Regions from separate parts of the Homo sapiens genome. Here regions 2, 3 and 4 are each linked to region 1. Evidence: promoter capture Hi-C in human tissues and cell types (Jung and others, 2019). All regions are on one chromosome and are shown on one strand. Each heading gives the region's core, a stretch centred on a gene start or on the middle of the fragment in contact. The rest is flanking DNA. Distances are from core to core; before and after follow the strand shown.

Evidence for each region. The method cuts DNA at HindIII sites, captures the fragments that hold promoters and counts their contacts. A contact is called where the count stands out against the background at its distance.
Region 2: a fragment that was not itself captured here is called in contact with the fragment with the promoter of RBFA in region 1 in 2 of the 25 tissues and cell types used here (IMR-90 fibroblasts and lymphoblastoid cells).
Region 3: a fragment that was not itself captured here is called in contact with the fragment with the promoter of RBFA in region 1 in 2 of the 25 tissues and cell types used here (adrenal gland and dorsolateral prefrontal cortex).
Region 4: a contact is called between a fragment that was not itself captured here and the fragment with the promoter of RBFA in region 1, in 5 of the 25 tissues and cell types used here (dorsolateral prefrontal cortex, mesenchymal stem cells, mesendoderm cells and 2 more).

Annotation. Positions count from the first base shown.
Region 1 is chr18:80,032,735-80,035,951 of GRCh38, reverse strand. RBFA (ribosome binding factor A) reads right to left here and starts at 1,518. Exons shown (of 7, transcript NM_024805.3): 1 at 1,299-1,518. The coding sequence starts at 1,456. It also overlaps a transcript of TXNL4A not described here. RefSeq lists silencers at 1,323-1,472, 1,583-1,662, 1,673-1,992, 1,875-2,031, 2,063-2,232. The HindIII fragment of the contact is 12,317 bases long and covers 1-3,217 here.
Region 2 is chr18:80,084,286-80,087,502 of GRCh38, reverse strand. No RefSeq gene overlaps it. Among named protein-coding and RNA genes, the nearest start is that of RBFADN, 19 kb to the right of the region's middle. The HindIII fragment of the contact is 9,158 bases long and covers 1-3,217 here.
Region 3 is chr18:79,973,773-79,976,989 of GRCh38, reverse strand. TXNL4A (thioredoxin like 4A) reads left to right here. Exons shown (of 3, transcript NM_006701.5): 3 at 3,134-3,217. Among named protein-coding and RNA genes, the nearest start is that of HSBP1L1, 11 kb to the right of the region's middle. The HindIII fragment of the contact is 3,685 bases long and covers 125-3,217 here.
Region 4 is chr18:80,066,789-80,070,005 of GRCh38, reverse strand. It overlaps RBFADN (RBFA downstream neighbor), which reads right to left and starts at 2,750. Exons shown (of 4, transcript NR_103445.2): 1 at 2,698-2,750; 2 at 100-208. The HindIII fragment of the contact is 4,600 bases long and covers 1-3,217 here.

The DNA of each region.
Region 1 (3,217 bases), core at 269-2,768:
TTGTAGTGCCAGAAAGTAGGAAAGTGTTTAACACACACAGAACCCAGCAAAACCCCACAATGACAGGGTATGCAAACAGGACATAGGAGCTTAGTGAGCTCCTAAGGGCCTGAGCTGGAAACATTCGAACAAAACTAAGTAACACGGGATTATAACCCATGAGTTCTTGGTGATATGAATGAATTAATACATGGGGTGAAGAGACATATCCCTTGTGCAGAATGCAAACCACTTATGAGCAAAATTCCCCACTCATTAGGCATGGGCTGCACACAGCGACTTTCTCCCAGAGTACAGTAAGGAAAGGGGGCAAAAAGAGTAACTTTACGGTAGAGAAACCTGGCAAGCACCTCATGCAGGGGATCACGGCCAGCGTGGACCCTGGATACGGTGCGATGAGAATGGCCTTTACCTCTGTAGTCTTCCTCCCCAAAAGCCATAATCCACGTCTAAGCATTAAAAAAACAGGCACATTCCAACAGAGAGGCATCCTGCAAAGCACCTGACCAGTACCCCTCAAAACTGGCACAGCCATCAAAACCAGGGACAGTCTGGGACACTACCCCAGCCTAAGGAAACAAGACAATTCAATGTAACGTGGACCTTGGGTGGGCACCTGGGACAGGAAGGGACAGCAGGCAGAACCAAGGAAAAGTGAATAAAGTATGAGCTTCAGTTAGCAACACTCTTATCAATATCGGCTCATTAACTGGAACACGTTGGAAGCTAAAGTCCGACGCTAACACAGGGGGAGCTGGGTGCCAGGACACAGGAACGCGGTACTATTTTTGCAATTTTTCTGCAGGGTCTAAAACTGTCTTTAAAAGTAGTGTATTAAAGTAGAAAACATACAACCACCTACCATACTTAGAAGAACTAAAAGCAGTGTGAAAAGTCAATGTATTTTATTGTACTTATCTTTCATAATTTAAAAACACTAATTATCATGACAAGCTTTAGTCTTCAAATTCACACAGAAAGTCAACATTAGCAAGGAAATTCTTATATTTTTTCATTTTTCCTCATTTTCTGAAACTAATCTTCTGAAAAATACGTCTGGTGACAAGAATCAAAATAAACACACATTGTCACTTTGTTTTCTTAACCCGACACACGTCCACGAACACAAAAGCTGCAAATGCTGACAGTGAGAGCTAGAACTGCTGCAGACCCCAGGAGGCAGGAACTGGCGAGCTAGGCCGCATGGGCGCAAGAACGCGGATGAGCGGACACCGCAACCCGGGGACACCGCCCCCTAGGGAATACCGCGCCCAGGGACACCGCCCCCGCCGCATTACTTGGTTTTCGAGGCAAATTTCTTGAGCCAGTTCTTGCAGGAGACAGCAGAGCAGTGAAGTCCCCGCTCGCAGCCTGGAAATAGCGCAGCATCGCGGCTACGGAACAGGGCCCGGAGACCCGCGCGGGAGCGCCACAGCCCGCCCGCCGCAGCCCACATGGCGCGGCGCCGGGACCCGGAGCGAGCAGGGAGACAACGGGCGCAGGCGCGGAGCGACAACTGACGCGAGGGTGGCGGCGTGTGGGCGGGGCGACGGCGCAGAGCGGGAGGAAGACTCACGCCTGGCAGGCGGCGTGTGGGCGGGGCGATGATGCAGGGCGGGGCGATGATGCAGGGCGGGGCGAGGACAGACGCGAAGCTGACGGCGTGTGGGCGGGGCCACGGCGCGGGGCGGGACGAAGACGGGGTGCAAGGCGGGCGGGGCAACGACGGCGGAGGGGCGAAGGCCCGAGGGGGGCGGTAGGTGGGCGGGGCGAGGACAGACGCGAAGCTGACGGCGTGTGGACGGGGCGACGGCGAGGGACGGGGCAAAGACTGGACGCAAGAAGGGGCGGGGCGACAACGGCGGAGGGGCGAAGGCGCGAGGCGAACGGCGAGTGGGCGGGGTGAAGACCGACGCGAAGCGGGCGGTGGTTGGGCGGGGCGAAGACTGACGCGAGGCGGGCGGTGAATGGGCGGGGCGAAGACTGGCGCGAGGTGGGCGGTGGGTGGGCAGGGCGAAGACTGAAGCGAGAAGGGCAGCGCGAGGTGGGCGACTACCAGAGCGAAGCGAGCGGCGTGTAAGCGGGGTGAAGACAACGCCAGGTGGGCAGTGTGCGGGCGGGGGGGGCGGCAACGGGGGCGGGGCGAAGGACGACGCGAGGCGGGGCCGGCGGGAGCTGGGCGTGGGGAGGCCGCGTGGGCTGCGCGGAGGGTGTGCCACTCGGGGAAGCGTGGGAACCGCCTGGTTGCCTGGCGCTGCGTAGCTAGGAACACGTTTTGTTTAAATACTGGGAACTGACGTAGGCGGGTGCGCCGCACAAAGCAACGAAGGCATCGAAGCCTGGAGACCTGGGCAGGGCCGCTGTCGGCGGGAGGCTGCGAGGGGTCCGTCTGTTTCCGCCACTGGGCCCTCCAGGGCTTTGCTGCTGCGCCGCCTTCTCCCCGGGCACCTAGAGAAAGTCCCCAGATTGGGCGTCCTCCCCAGAAGTGGTCTCGCCCCGCCCGCCTCCCCAGAGTCAGCGTGGCCCAGCGGGGAAGCTGCTCCCCCCGGGCGTGGAAAGAGAAGTGAGCGCGACCGCAGTGTTGGGGATGCGTGGGCTGTGACTCCCCCGAGGCGGCTGCTGTGGTGTGAGACACGTCTGTGTGTGTGTGTGTGTGTGGGCGCGTGTGGATGTGTACATGTGTATGTGTGCATATGTACGTGTGTGTGCATGTGTGTGGACATGTATATGTGTGCATGTGCGTGCGCGTATATATGTGTGTGTGTATGCGTATGTATGTGTGTATATATTGTCAATCGAAGAAAACGACGAGACAAGTCTCTAATCATTTTAGGAGATTTATTTGCCAAAGTTAAGGACGCACCCAGGAGACAGGTCTACGCCTTTCTCCAAAAATGATTTTGAGGGCCCCAGATTTAAAGGGGAAAGGGCGGAGTATTGAGAAGCAGAGTTTTCACAAACAAACGGGCAGAGGAAAAACGTGGGGAATCTGCATTTTACATAAGATAACGCAGACAAAATGTGGTAGGGGAACAATCAGATGGGCTAGGGTGACTGCACCTGTAAAGATAAGCTATCAATTTGCATTGCCATGGTTAAGTTTTATTTTTTTGAAATGGAATCTCTCTCTGCCGCCCAGGCTGGAGGGCACTGGCGTGATCCCGGCTCACTGCAACCTCCACCTTCCAGGTTCAAACAATTCTCCCGCCTCAGCCTC
Region 2 (3,217 bases), core at 327-2,826, 51 kb before region 1:
GTTTCTCCATGTGCATTGAAGTCCATGTCGAATGACTGTCAATAAGGAAAAAATTATATTTAAACTAAAATTATGCTGTTGCTTCCCCACTTGCTAATTTTTTGATGGAGGGAAATACTGCTCATATGAGAGATTGGGAAAGTGAGACTTTGATCAGTCCACTGTTTCTACCAACGCTGGCAAGTTTATTATAGAAATTAAATATGGTAATAGAAAAGAAGCTACATTACTTTTACACTGCTCATAAAATTTTTCTACTCTACAGAGCAAATTCAAATTTTGATATGATTGTCTTTACGCTGAGGCTACATTACTATAAATTAGGTCAGAGTAGGAAAGCAGATTAGAAGATTTAAAATGGAATTAAATAGAAACTTTCTCTTTCCTTTATTTTCTTTTTATCCCCTTTGCAGTAATCCTTGTTTATTAGCTCCTAATAAATTATGTAATCTTTCAGATAGTTTATATCTGAACATCTCATCCAAATAGTAAAGTGAAACAAAAACAATGCCTTTTATGCTGACTTTTTCACCTTTTTGTAATAGAGATTTTGTCACATCTTGTTACGCATTCAACTCACAATTATTGAGCATCACTGCTCCTTGTTATAGAGAAGGCAGTCAGTGAGAAGGACAGACAAGAGAATTCATGCTGACAACAAGCAATAGATGTTTATACTGGATCTTCTAGGAGAAGCAGGATGGGGAGGGGAAAAAAAATAGGAAAACTTTTCCTAAAGAAGATGAGACCAGACCTGAATCTTGAAAAAGAAATAGGGTTTTAGACCATCAGACTAGAATAAATGCCTTCAAGGCAAAGGGTTAGCATACGTAAAGACAGGTATGCTGCTGTCTGCGGCTACACACACACATTCCTTAGATTTGCTGGTAGTTCACTTGCATCTCAAAGAAATGTTATTTTTTTCTTCATTTCGTGTGTGCAGAGAAGCTTTGCTGCCTTGTAGTTACACATGAAATGAGTCACCTTTCTCCAGAGCTCTTCGTACTCAATCAGGAAGCACTAGCTAGGCTTAGCTCTGGAATGCTGGATCAGGGATGCTCACCAGAGAACCACTGCAGGCTGGGGCAGGGGAGGTGTCAAATTGGGCATGTGCAGCAGTAGTCCCTTATGAAGCAGAAGTGGTTTATATGAGTTCTGCAAGGATACCAGTGCTCCCTTCATTAATATTTGAGTTAGTCTGTTCTCATATTGCTATAAAGAACTACCTGAAACTGGGTGGTTTATAAAGAAAAAAGGTTTAATTGGCTCACAGTTCCACAGGTTGTACAGGAGGCATGGCTGGGGTTGGGGGCCTCAGGAAAGTTACAATCATGGCAAAAGGCGAAGGGGAAGCAAGCACATCATCACATGACAACAGGAGGAAGAGCAAAGAAGGAAACCCTACACATTTTTAAACAACCAGCTCTCATGAGAACTCACTCACTATCATGAGAACGGCAAGGGGGACATCTGCCCTCATGATCCAGTCACCTCCCACCAGGTCCCTCCCCTAACACTGGGGATTACAATGCAACATGAAATTTGGGTGGGGACACACAGCCAAACCATATCAGTATGTTTCTCCATGCTTTCATAAAGATGGTGCTCAATACTCCCTTAGCAGAACCTAGTGAGAAGATGCTTGAGCAGGACTCACTTGATAAATCAACATCATTTCTATCTCCTTAAGCCTTTAAATTCTTTCCTGTACATTAAATCAAGTGATGGATCTCAACTTCATTTAATGTGGCCACAAACTACTCCAGCTATGTTTTTCTAAAAGAATTCTAATTTGCATGTTTGTAGTCTGTTCTAGAGAGTGAGTGAGGGCCTGACCCGTTGCTTTTCCTAAGCAATGGATGGATGGGAACTTCTACTCCCAGGAGGGGTCCTAAGTGCTCACTGCTCTTTAGAAGCAGTGCTGCCAAGAACAAAGGATGCCAGTGCCAGGTGTATTAGTCCTTTCTCACATTGCTCTAAAGAAATACCTGAGACTGGATAATTTATAAAGAAAATAAGTTTAATTGGCTCATGGTTCTGCAGGCTGTACAGGAAGCACAATGCTGGCATTTGCTTGGCTTCTGGGGAGGCCTCAGAAAACTTACAATCATGGCGGAAGGTGAAGGGGGAGCAGGAACGTCTTACAGAGCAGGAACAAGAGAGAGAGCAAGGGGGAGGTGCTATACACTTTTAAACAACAAGATCTCGTGAGTACTCACCATCATGAGTACAGTGCCGAGGGGATGGTGCTAACCCGTTCATGAGAAATCCACCCCCATGATCCAATCACCTCCCACCAGGCCCCACCTCCAACATTTGGGATTAAAATTCAACAAGAGAGTTGGGCAGAAACACAGATCCAAACCACATCTCCAGGCCCATCAACTAACTAAGCAAACAGTCTTCCCAACTACTCACACTAACACATGGAGTCCAGAATATCTGCCAAGAACACGTGTATCAATAAATTCAGCCCAATCTAGCAGTTTTCCTCCTTCTCCAATACCAATAAAATTCATTTTTACACACTTTACTCATGTTTCTACTGATAACTAGGAAGAATCATTTTTTTTGTTTTTGTTTTTTGAGATAGGGTCTTGCTCTGTCACCCAGGCTGGAGTGCAGTGGCATGATCATGGCTCACTGCAGCCTCGACCTCCTGGGCTCTGGCAATCCTCCTGCCTCAGCCTCCTGAGTAGCTGGAAGCACAGGTGTGCACCACCACACCTGACTAATTTTTAAGTTACATGTAGAGATGGGATCTCCCTTTGTTCCTCTGGCTTGTCTTTAATTTCTGGGCCCAAGCAATCTTCCCCCTCAGCCTTCCAAAGTGCTAGGATTATAGGCATGAGCCAATGCACCTGGCCAGGAAAAAATGTTGTATAAGCCTCTTTCCCCCAGTCAGATTTCGCATTCATCCCCCTTGGTGTGCAGGGATCTGACTGTGGTGATGGGTCTGGAGGCAGCAAGAGGTTTTGGGTTTGCTTTGAGAATGACCTGCTCTTGCAAGCTAATTGCCTCAATGAGAACATTACAAAGTCTTCCACAAGGGGAGGCTGATCCACTCAGGTGGGAAAAGAGCACTGGCTTTCAACAGCAAAAGGAAGATGATGTGGAATTTGAGGTTCCAGTTTCTCATCTGCATCACAATCCACCCAGTGATTCCCGTTCCAATTCTTAGGGCCTGCTCTTTTCCAGTCAGTGTCCTAACTTCCCA
Region 3 (3,217 bases), core at 718-3,217, 59 kb after region 1:
AAACTCCGTCTCAAAAAAAAAAATCAAAAACCTAATTTATTAAATATGTTATCATCAACTTCGGTGTCCTTTTTTATATCCAAGAGGAACACCTGAACTACTTTGCTTATAAATACAAGATTATTTTATCAGCTCAAAAATTTCATTATGGAAATTTAATGGGGAAAGAAATCACCATCTGATGCTGTTTTTACTTGTTTAGTTACCATAGAGGTTGGTGAATTAGCTACATGAGCATTAGACCATTCTCCAAAAGTGGAGCCTCCTACTCGGTAAGGAAGGTCAGGTGGGTTGTATAGGGTATGCGTTAGTTTTGTATTCTTTGTAACAAATTAGCACGCATTGAGCAGCTTAAATCACCCCGCTTTTCTGAGCTCACAGTTCTGTAAGTCAGACATCCAGGCAGGGCCCGCTGGATTCCTGCTCAGGGTCTCACAAGGTCTGAACCATGGGCTGGGTGCTTATCTGGAGTGTTTGAGGGGCTTGTTTGGGTTGTGGGCCGAGTCTGGCTCTTCGTGGTGGTGGGTCTGAGATCTGCTTCCTTGCTGCTGTTACCTGAGGCCACTCTGCTGCCAGAGACCCAGTTACCCTCAAAGCCAGCACTGGCATGCCGGCACATTGAGAACTTTTCACACAGGTTCTCTGACCTGAAAAGTTCTGCCTGAGAAAATGCTCTGGTTTTAGAGGACTGTGATAAGATTAGACTTGCCCAAATAATCCAGGATAGTGACCTTGTTTTATTTATTTATTGAGATGGAGTCTCACTCTCACCCAGGGTGGAGTGCAGTGGCACCATCACAGCAAGCTTGAACTCCTGGCTTCGAGCCATCCTCCCGCCTCAGGCTGCCAAAGCGTGAGGCACTGCCGTGGTTCTGGGCGTCGGGATACGCTCCCCTGGACACGCCCTTGGCTTCCTAGGTGCCTCCTGTTAGGTTGAGAAGATCTGTGAGGTGCACCCTGCATTTCTTGTGAACTTTTCATCTTTCCTAGGTTTCAGCAAAGGTTGCGTGGCTGACCCTCATCCTTTTCTCTACTGTGTGTTCAGCAGCCATTTCTGAATTTCAGCCCCTTTGGCCATCCGGAGAGGCTAAAGAATTTATTCCTTTTGTTAACAGTTCTTACACTAATTTGCCTCTTTCCTCTCTTGAAGGCAGCACCTCCGAGACTTTGCTTGGAAGTTTCCGCAGCTAAATATCCCGAGTGTGTTGCTTTTGAGCTCTGACTTCCTATAACTGCGGACCCCGTGTCCCTGTTCCTCGGCCACTCTGTAACGGGGGTCCCCTTTTCTCCGTTTCCCAGTAACACACTCCTCACTTCCTTCCAAGCCCACACCAGGTGTTCCTGAAGTCCATATTTCTGTTAACAGCCTGTTCGAGGCAATAGAGGCCTTTTCTATTTTGCCCCTCAGAATTCTTCAGGTGAGAACAGGGAGGGCCGTCTTAGGTCTCTGCCCCCCACAGCGTGCAGTGGAGGCCAGCCTGGGGCTGGAGATGCTGTGAGGGGCAAGGAGGCTGCAGGCAACAGCCTTGGGTGGCGGGAGCAGCCTACTTAGTGTAGTTTGATATTTTTAGGACTGATGCTGTACTCAGAAAAGGAGATGAAACTTCCTTCTGCTGTTTCTGTGATTTAGAATTTTAAGACAAACGGTACTTTAGTTAACTTATGCACCAAACATATATCTTGAGCCCCCACCAGGTTTGTGGTCTAGTGGTGGAGCCTAATGTCAGATAAGACAGGATTCCCACTCTCATAGGACGTTGTCTGATAGAAACAGCTGAGTAAATTAGCAGGGGGTTCTGAAGAAGTGAAAGGAGGCAGATGTTTATGAGATATAAATACCGAAGAAGTACACCCAGGTCAGATAGGGCTGCAGGGAGGGTGCTACGGGCAGCCCCCAGTCATTGTAGAAGGAGCTTGGTGCATGCTGCATGTAGGGCCTGCCTGCAGCATGGAGAATGAGAGGGCGGCCAGAGGTGGGCTCCAGACCCTGATCAGATTTGCCTCTCCTGAACCAGAGACTTCACGGGGAATACTTTCTACGGAATAGTAGGTGGAAGCCAAATGCATGATCTTGTGGAAGTGAACGTTAAAAAACAGTCTTTAGGTGGGGTATGCCTGCAGCCCAGCCACTCTGCAGGCCGGGGTGGGACTGGAGCTAGGGGTTTGAGTCCGGCCTTAGCAACATAGCTCGCATCTCTAAGAAAAATAATCAGGCCGGCACAGTGGCTCACGTTTGTAATCCCAGCACTTTGGGAGGCCGAGGTGGGAGGATCACTTGAGGCCATGAGTTTGAGACCAGCCTGGCCAACATGGGGACACCCCATCTTTACAAAAAACTAGAAATTTATCTGGGTGTGGTGGCTCGTGCCTGTGGTCCCAGTTACTTAGAGGGCTGAGGTGGGAGGATCATTTGGGCCAGGAGGTTGATTTTGCCACTATGCCCTAGCCTAGATGACAGTGAGACCCCATCTCAAAAAGAAACTTCAACAAACCAGGATAAATTTATGCCAGTACAACAAAGGGTTAATATCCTTATCTTGTAAAGTGCACATGAGTATTCATGAGGAAAAGAACTAGTCTCTTGAAAGATAAGTAAAGAATTATCTACTTCCCTAACCATAAACATGCAAAATGTCATCTTCATTTCATAGTTGAAGGGCTTTTAATACAATTTATGTCATTGCTCATAAGAGCACTGTGAAAAACTTACACATTGCTTTTATCAGGTAAATTAGTACAAATTAGATGGGGGTCTCATTTTGTTATCCATGTTGATCTCGGACTCCGGGCCTCAAGTGATCCTCCTGCCTCAGCCTCCCATAGAGTTGGGATTACAGGCATGAGCCACTGCGCCTGCCCTCCTTTGACCTTTTAATTTCCCCTTAGAATAACTGTCCTAAATAAATACAGAAAAATGCAGGAAAGAGCATGGTGGACAATGCATTGCATCTTTAAAAACACATTTAGCTGCTTCCTGTATTCTCCTGCATCATGGCATACACTCTCGATTTTATGCGTTCTTCAGTGATGTTAACAAGAGCTTGTCACAGTGGGAAAAATACGGCATTGTTTTCAAGGAATTCTTTTTTAAAGAGACTTCTATGAGAATGGATGCCCTTGTTTCTCGTTGCAGGAACAAGCACATCATGATTGACTTGGGGACTGGCAACAACAACAAGATTAACTGGGCCATGGAGGACAAGCAGGAGATGGTGGA
Region 4 (3,217 bases), core at 206-2,705, 34 kb before region 1:
CCATTCCCAAGCAAAATCAAAGAAAAACCCAGTGTAGGCTTAAGTCAAACCAAGCTGTTAAGGCAAAGAGTCGATATACGAACAGTCCAAAGTACTCACTGAAAATTATGCGAAGCCATTCTAAAAATATAATGAGTGCAAATCCCATTGTTATTCACATTCTTGAGAAAAATAACTGGTGAACTTCAATGATCAGGTCTTCATCCACCTTGAAAGAGAAAAAGAGAAAGGAATTTACCATGGTATTTACAAATGCCACCCTAACCTAGCATTCAAAATAAAAGAGACAGTCTGGGTGCGGGGACTCACGCCTGTAATCCCAGCACTTTGAGAGGCTGAGGCGGGTGGATTGCTTAAGGCCAGGAATTGAAGATCAGCCTGGGCAACACAGAGAGACCCTGTCTCTAATAAAAACAATAGTTATAAAAATAAAAATGAAAATAAAAGAGGTATGACCAGAATGCTGTTTGCCCCCCTTACAGATTTTTCATTCCATCTACATTTTGCTTTGCAATTTGAGAATAGAAGGATCTGCCCATTTAAGAAAAACATGCCATTCTGATGTTTAAAAGGCTCTGAAAGAAAGAAATTTCCTGTACTGGGCCTATCTAGCTGAGTGGGACACAACTAAGTCCATATTGGGCACCCAGGGAATTCAGCCCTTACTAGATATTCGCTCTTATTAATATTATTATTCCAGACCTGATTCTCTGAAGTTACAGAGTATTCATATTGATTTTAATATTTTAGAATTTTGTTTAAAAGGTTCATCTTCACAATACTGCTCTGGTTACAACCGTGACTTTTCCTCATTCCCATTGTGTTCCCGCAGAGAATAGGGTGCAGGGTAAGTCCCCACAAGGGTATGGCTGGGTCAAAGGGCGAATGTGTTTGGGATTCCAGCAGACACCACGGGCCACTCCCCTAGGGAGGACACCCCACCCGCCAGCAATGCAGAAGGGCATGTCACAACAACGCTGCTTTCAAACATGTTATTTGTCACCTCTCCAATAGCAGAAAAATAACTCCTTTTCCTTTTCTTTCACTGTGTCCCTTTCTGGAGCCCTTGCTAGTTAGGACCACATCCAGTACTTGCACCCTGGGGTTCATGAGCTCCCCGTCCTAACTGAGCCTCATTCTGAGCTGCCAGCAAGGCTACCAAAAATTTCAAGCAGAAGAGAGGATTTCAGTTGGTGCAAACAGGAGCGGCTGCTCATTCCACAGATCCAGGGCAGGGCCATCCCAACAGGCAACAGTGAACTCGAAGGGTAAATCTGACTTGGCCAAGGGCATGGGGATTAGAGCCTAATCCAGTAAGACAGTGGCCACTTCTGTGATCGAGAAGCATCAGGGAGAATGATGCTAATAACTAAGAAAATGAAAGAAAAGCAGGGATTAGAAACTACATTTGCCACATGTAACTTTTATAGTGATGATACGTCCACATTTCAACGTCTCACCCTCATTCTACCGGGAGCCATACTGAGGACAGAGTTCTTGGGAGATAGAATAATATGGTGATATTTTGGAATGGCATATTCTAATGAGGAGGAAAACATTTAAATTTTTGAGTTTTAATTAAATGAATATGTATTTAATAACTAATGCCTAAGGCTGCACACCTGTCAGATCTACTTACTCTCCTCAATATGGAATCTTTTCTTACATTACAAAAACAATACCTTTCTTGAAAAATTCACACTACATAAAAGTATATAAGGCAGCACCTGAACCTCCTCAACGCTACAACCTCCATAATCTCATCCTCAGGGAGGGTTCTGTGCTCCTCCCAGACCTTTGTGTGCAACAAAAACAGCCAAAGCCCAACAGGTACATCTGAGCTGCACCCTCCAGGCCTGTCCGTTTGCCAACGGGCGCATCTGAGCTGGGTCCTCCAGGCCTGTCCATTTGCCAACGGGTGCATCTGAGCTGCGCCCTCCAGGCCTGTCCATTTGCCAACGGGTGCATCTGAGCTGCGCCCTCCAGGCCTGTCCGTTTGCTCTTACCCTTTGGAGACTGCGTTGCCATCCCCAGTTCACAGAGGAATGGACCCCCATCCACCCAGCTTTCACCTCCAGGTAGATTTTGACCCACTTAACTGTAGCATATTTAAGTTGTGCAATAGAAGAAAACAGACAAGCTGTTATATTTCTCTTCCGAGATATCCAGTTTTCTTATTTCCAGATCCTATACTACACTAAGTCAAGAGTTCAAAAAAACAATACAAGGGAAGTATTTCTCATTAAAAGATTATGTTTATATAACAGTCTTTAAATGGTCGACTTTCAGAATTGCAGCAAGAGCAGAACTGGACACCCAACAGGTCTTGTTTGTTCCCACACAGTTACCAAGCTTGAAGGACGGCCCTGGAAGGGGGCTGCCTACCTTGGTGGGCCTCATAATCGGCCTGCAGAATCTTCCAGGCATACTGGTCTGCAGGCCCCTGAGCAGGACCTCTGGGGCCCCCACTCCAGGTCATCGTCTTGCCCTGGCCGCCCTTCTCGGCTCAACTCTCCCCTTCCTGCCATGCTTGCCAGCTCCAGGGGTGGTGTCCTCTGTAGCCCCCAACTCCTCCCATCTCCCCTTTCTCCAGGCCCCAGCCCTTCCACTCCCGGGAACACCTCCTTGTCTTTCACTGGCCACTTTCTGCATGGTGTGGAACCTCTGCAGACGGGCTTCTGCGCCCCACACACTCACCGTGTGCAGCTTCTCCTGCTCCGAGCCCCCAACTGAGTTCTGGGGCAGGAACGTGTGTGCAGCCAGGCCCCAGCACCTCCTCACCCAGGCCTAGGCAGGTGAGCAGCCCCAACAGGCGTCGTGATCCTCAATCACAGCTGCAGCCTTCAGTGCCTACGCCTCTCTGTCTTCTCTCCATTTTCCAAAGCCATAGAGGACCATCAGAAAACATCCAAAAACAAAAAGATCAACTAAAGCTCTCTCCCAACACTGCCCAGCCTTACCTGGGTGCTTTCTTCAAGGCGAAGGTCCTATACCGGCCTCTCCTCCCTCCAGCACCCTCCTCTGCCTGCCTGGAGGGCTCTTAGCCTCACCCTAAATTCACACGCAAAGCTTAGTTCCCTTTGAGCCACCTCGTGTCCTCCCTGCCATCAGCTCTGCATATCTTATCGCCAGGAGCTGCTGAGATTTGTGAATTAATTCATTAAGAAGCTAAGTCCCTGTAGCTGCTCCCTATCTCTAAAAACACAGCCTCAGCTCT